Linked DNA regions of Homo sapiens: region 1 is linked to region 2. Evidence: promoter capture Hi-C in 16 types of primary human blood cells and fetal thymus (Javierre and others, 2016). All regions are on one chromosome and are shown on one strand. The core of a region is centred on a gene start or on the middle of the fragment in contact, and the rest is flanking DNA. Distances in the headings are between cores, read along the strand shown. Region 1 holds the start of MED28 (mediator complex subunit 28). Region 2 holds the start of CD38 (CD38 molecule).

Region 1 (2,700 bases), core at 139-2,638, 1.8 Mb before region 2:
TTCCAAAGAAAATGTGGCCTTTGAATTGAATCGTGAGACAAGACTAGACAGATCGTGATCACCCAGCAGCAGAGAGGATCCAGCTCGCACCACTCCCACTCCCCTTCACCTGGCTAAGTCAAAATGCTTCTTTGGCTTTCCTGCTCTCTGGGAAGCCTTCTTTGATGTCCACACCTATATGTGCTCCCACAGTACCCCAGGTTTCTTCTATCAGAGCAGTGATCCTACAACAAGGCAACTGCCTGCCGTTTATTACAAGCTTCCTGAAGGCAGGGACTGGTTTTCTCTGTATTCTCTGTATGGATAATCAAGTCCCAGAGGGAGTTCTCTCTCAAGGGCACCTACAGACATATATGTGAATCAGGCAAGGAGTTCTGTGCACAAGCCAACTACACTACAGGCTCCACACTACAGATTCCTTCAATGTCTGACAAATATTCATCTAGCACTTGCTATCTACTACCACTGTATTAGCACTACAGGTTACACAATGTGAGGGGTGGGGGTACAAAACAGGTAGTCTCTGACTTCATGGAGCCGAATTTAATGGTAAGTATTAAAAAGAAGGCCAGGGAAGGGTCCACTGAGGAAGTGATGCAGTGAGCTGAGGAGCGGCCTGGAAGCCCAAAGAGAAAACAAATGGTACACGTGGGAAAGTCTTGTGTGGCTGCAGTAAGGAAACGAGTCTGAAGGAGAGAACGCAACATGCAAAGCCTGGGAGACCACACTAAACATCTTGATCTTATCTCAAGGGCAACAAGCAGCCACTGTACGTTTTTAAGCAGCAGGGTGCTGGGAGTCAACTTTGGCTAAGACTTGTACAGGGCCAGTCTTTCAGCAAGTGCCCATGACTGAGAGCCAGCTCCCCTCAAGCACAATGCTAGATGCTGCTCTAAAGTTCACCAGCCCCTTCCTTTACCACTTAGCACCACCTCAAAGGTGTCTCCTCCTCCTCCTCCTAAACGGTCTGTCCTTTAAATCATTTATTTCTGGCTAGGCGCAGTGGCTCACGCCTGTAATCCCAGCACTTTGGGAGGCCGAGGCGGGTGGATCACGAGGTCAGGAGTTCGAGACCAGCCTGGCCAAGATAGTGAAGCCCTGTCTCTACTAAAAAATAAAAAAAATAGCATGGTGGCAGGTGCCTGTAATCCCAGCAACTCGGGAGGCTGAGGCAGGAAAATCGCTTGAACCCGGGAGGCGGAGGTTGCAGTAAGCCGAAATTGCGCCACTGTACTCCAGCCTGGGCGAGAGAGTGAGACTCCATCTCAAATCATTTATTTCTAAATCTTTGTACATCCGTGTGGTAAAAGCATTTTGTCCATGCAGTCTGAATAATCGCTTGCAAATTATATTCATTTACCACTGTGCTATTAGATACAATACAAAAGTCACAAAGTTGGGATTTTTATTTATTTATATTTTATTTTACTTTTTTGAGACGGAGTCGAGCTCTTGTCACCCACGCTGGAGTGCAATGGCGCGGTCTCCGCTCACTGCAACCTCCGCATCCCAGGTTCAAGCGATTCTCCTGCCTCAGCCTCTCGAGTACCTGGGATTACAGGCGCACGCCACCACGCCTGGCTAATTTTTGTATTTTTAGTAGAGTCAGGGTTTCACCATGTTGGTCAGGCTGGTCTCGAACTCCTGACCTCATGATCCGCCAGCCTCGGCCTCCCAAAGTGCTGGGATTACAGGCGTGAGCCACCGCGCCCGGCAAAACTGGGATTTAAAATGTGGAAAAGTTAACTCCAATTTGAACGTACATTACTTTATTACTACACAGGAATAGCTCATCTTCCACTTTAAAGACTACTGGAAATCACCAGAGCACTTATTTTCACCTCTCTATCTTCCCTCAATATACAGTTCACCTTTCTTGCTACAAGGTAAACTCCTTGGGCAAAACTGAGAGATTGGGTCACCTGTGCCTCCCTCCCTCCCTAACCTCCAGCATTCCTCCTTCCTCAGCTCTTAGTACCAAGCTGCGCCTGGTAACTTAAGTCAATTTCCGCTCTTAAGAGTCCCTTTAGGATCGTTTAAAGGTGAAGCCCAGCGGAAAGGATACAGGATACAGCAGTGAAACTCTCAGCTCCGAAAAGGCTTGAGCCTCTTACTAAACATGCAGGGATGCAAGAAACGGTGCTCGGGGATGAGACTAAGGACCGGCTGGGAATCTGGAAGGGTTCCAAGTTTGGGGTTTAGGCAAACTTCGGGTTCACGTTTCCACAAACGTCGAGTTTACGCGCCCCCGCCAGCAGACCTGAATTGAATACGGGCCACGGGGAAGCCTAAAGCAAGTGACTTACTTTAAGCCTCAGTTTCCCCATTTGTGAATTAGTTGCTCGGATCCCTGGAGGAGATACGCGTACGCGCAGTTCACGTTTCAGAAAAAAGGGAAGGCTAGGGACAAAGACGCCCATGTCTTATATTACCTCGAAAGATGACTCCAACTCGTCCACCAAAGTACTGCTGGAAGGTCTAGGAGCGCCTGGAGCTGCCTGAAGAAGCGAAGCTTGGCCCGGAAGGCCCGGCGGGGCCTGAGGGGGACCGGGTGGCTGCCCAGAAAACATACCCCCTAGTGGAGCCGCCATGTTTGGAATGGCGCAAGAGAGATCCACTGCGCCTGCGCGGAAGCCGGCTCAGAAGCTCACGTGGCTGGTGTAGTAGGCGTGGTCACGTGACAGGACCGAGCGATGGGAG
Region 2 (2,700 bases), core at 172-2,671:
TTACAATACAGCCTGGAGGAACGCCTCAACTTCTAGTTTCTCTCTCCATTAAGTATCTAATTATGTGTAAATAGAACAACTAACGGGACGCTGGGAAGCCCAGGAGGCAAACATTTTGCAACCGGAACTGTTGAGTGTGCTCGGAGAGGCGAGGGAGGTCTATTTGCTCGTTTCCTCGGATTGCTTAAATGCGGGATTTTGCTATCCCAAAGCACAGAGTGTAAAGTAGCAGCTCCCCCTGCCTGCCTTCCCGGCTTCTTCTGTTTTACAAGCAACGATAATTTCCCGGTGAAAGCGAGGCCTGGGAATCAAATCCAAAAAGTGGTTGTTCCCTTTAGGAGAGGTTAGTAGCTGGAAAGGAGCATGAGAAAACTGGAAGGTCCCATAGACTAATGTGTTTTTTTTCCAAGGTTTGTACAGATTCACCGAGTTGCTGCGCCTTATCATCTAAGTAATGTCTCGGTTTTAGAAGTTGACATTGTTTTGTTAATTACTTCTCTGGTCACATGCATTTCAGGCCGCGCAAAAAGAATCGGAGTGCTGCTTTATATAAATGAATAAAACTAAGTTCCGTGGTTTGGCCCTTCTACACCCTCCTCCCCTACCACAGGCTTTGCAAACCACTTAAGTGTCCTCTGTAACCGTCCGGGGGCACTTTCGGGTCAGAGACAGCGGGCGGAAACCGCAGAAAAAGTTGAAAATGTCAGCGACACCCTGCATCTGCGAGTTCTATTCCGTCCCTGAAGCGGTGAAGCGGGCTGAGCGCGCCGAGGGTGGGCTGCAGCCCGGCGAGGGGCTGGGCTCAGGGCACCTTGCCCAGAAGGCGGGCATCGGTGCCAAGTGTTCACCGGCTACGCAGCAGAGCCACCGAGCAGCGCCCCCCCCCGCCTCCCGCGGGCACGCTCGGTGCCAAGGCCAGCTGCTCCTGAAAGCGGCCCGCGGAGCCCCGAGCCCGGGACTCCCTACTCAGCACCACCCGGCGGGCTCTCGGCTGACCCGCCACGGAAGATGCCCGGTTCCGGGCGATCCGGGCGGCTTCCCTGCGCGCGGGGCCCTGCTGTCCCCGCAGTGCCCACCGGTGCGCCTTAGTCGCCAACCCACCTCATCTCAGGATGAATTTCAGTGTACTTGACGCATCGCGCCAGGACGGTCTCGGGAAAGCGCTTGGTGGTGCCCGGACCGCTCCACTGCTGGCGCCACCTCGGGACGACCACCGCGAGCACCACGACGAGGATCAGGACCAGGATACTGACGCCAAGACAGAGTTGGGCTCTCCTAGAGAGCCGGCAGCAGGGTTTGTCCCCGGACACCGGGCTGAACTCGCAGTTGGCCATAGGGCTCCAGGCGGGGTTGGCTGGGCGAAGATGAGGCCGGCAGGAGGCTAGGCAGCAAGAGAGAGGCTGGCTGGGTTCTGAAACTGCACCTCCCCTTCTGTTTCACTTGCCTTTTCTCTGTTTCCCTTCCCACCCCCAACCCCTTGCCTCAGAGTTCCGTGGCTGGTTACACCAATAAGAGTTTAAAAGACCAACAACTATAGGCTCCTGTGCAGTGACCCACCCACTCCACCTCCAGGGAGAAACAGCCACCTTAATCCTCTGCAGGTGTCCTAAGGGGGCAGACAGTACATCCTTATACTCCCTCCGCTAACTCCCTTCATCAACCGGGCACTTTACACCTGAGCCACATTTGCTTCCTGGAAAGCATGAGGGTGGGCTGCCTGCTTCTATACGTGTGTGCACACAATGCCCTCTGCCTGGAAAAGGATGTCCTACCTCTCTTTCTTAACTCTGACAAATGCCTGGTCAACCACCTTTAAAGACTCAACTTAAGTCTGACTCCTTCTCTCAAGAGGCATCAGTGGCTAAGCTCTGGGTTCAAATTTAGTTCTTGCTGGATGACATGGGGCAAGTTACTTAACCTCTCTGTACTTCAGATGTAAAGCCGGGATAGTAGCAGTACCTACTTCATGGGATTGTTACGAGGATTAAGTGAGTTAATATCTACAACGTGTTTAGCACAATACCTGGCACATGGTAATCACCCAGTAAATGTAAGTTGTTACTACCAGCTCTAGGAGCTGCTCAGAGATGCAATTTTATAGTCCATGGAATGTGTTTGAAGCAGGGTCTGGCACACAGTAATAATACTGCACTCTATGCGGGAGTTTAATAAATAATAAAGTGGCTTTTCTTGCCTCTTCTTTATTAAGAGAACATCTGTGACATTCAAGCAGAGACCTAAGTAATGTGAGCGATCAAGTCACCCAACTCCCTTGGGGCAAACATTTCCCAAGCAGAGGAAATGGCAGGTGCAAAGACTCTGAGGCAGAAAAGCTCTTGGCCTGTTCCAGAGCAGCAAGGAGGCCAATTGTAGTTAGGCTAGAGGGTTGAGGGAAACAGAACAGAAGTTCGGAAAGTAGCAGGAGACCAGATCACCCATAGCTCTGTAAGACAGGATGACTTTTTGGACTGTGTGTTTTATTTATTTTTTATCTTTTTTATTTTGTTTTAAGTTCTGGGATACATGTACAGGACGTGCAGAGTTGTTACATAGGTAAATGTGTGCCATGGTGGTTTGCTGCACCTATCAATCCATTGCTTAGGTATTAAGCCCCTCATGTTTTAGCTATTCTTTCTGATGCTCTCCCTCCCTCCACTCTCCCCAACAGGCCCCAGTGTGTGTTGTTCCCCTCCCTGTGTT

The links. The method cuts DNA at HindIII sites, captures the fragments that hold promoters and counts their contacts. A CHiCAGO score of 5 or more calls a contact.
Region 1: a fragment that was not itself captured here is called in contact with the fragment with the promoter of CD38 in region 2 in 1 of 17 cell types (activated CD4 T cells); the score reaches 5.9 in activated CD4 T cells.

The regions. Positions count from the first base shown.
Region 1 is chr4:17,614,546-17,617,245 of GRCh38, reverse strand. It overlaps MED28 (mediator complex subunit 28), which reads right to left and starts at 2,605. Exons shown (of 4, transcript NM_025205.5): 1 at 2,433-2,605. The coding sequence starts at 2,591. MED28-DT (MED28 divergent transcript) reads left to right here and starts at 2,666. Exons shown (of 3, transcript NR_186331.1): 1 at 2,666-2,700. RefSeq lists enhancers at 2,456-2,565, 2,666-2,700, 2,061-2,700. The HindIII fragment of the contact is 2,253 bases long and covers 262-2,514 here.
Region 2 is chr4:15,777,049-15,779,748 of GRCh38, reverse strand. It overlaps CD38 (CD38 molecule), which reads right to left and starts at 1,421. Exons shown (of 8, transcript NM_001775.4): 1 at 1,102-1,421. The coding sequence starts at 1,334. RefSeq lists silencers at 663-712, 903-952 and enhancers at 1,083-1,582, 994-1,636. The HindIII fragment of the contact is 6,782 bases long and covers 1-2,700 here.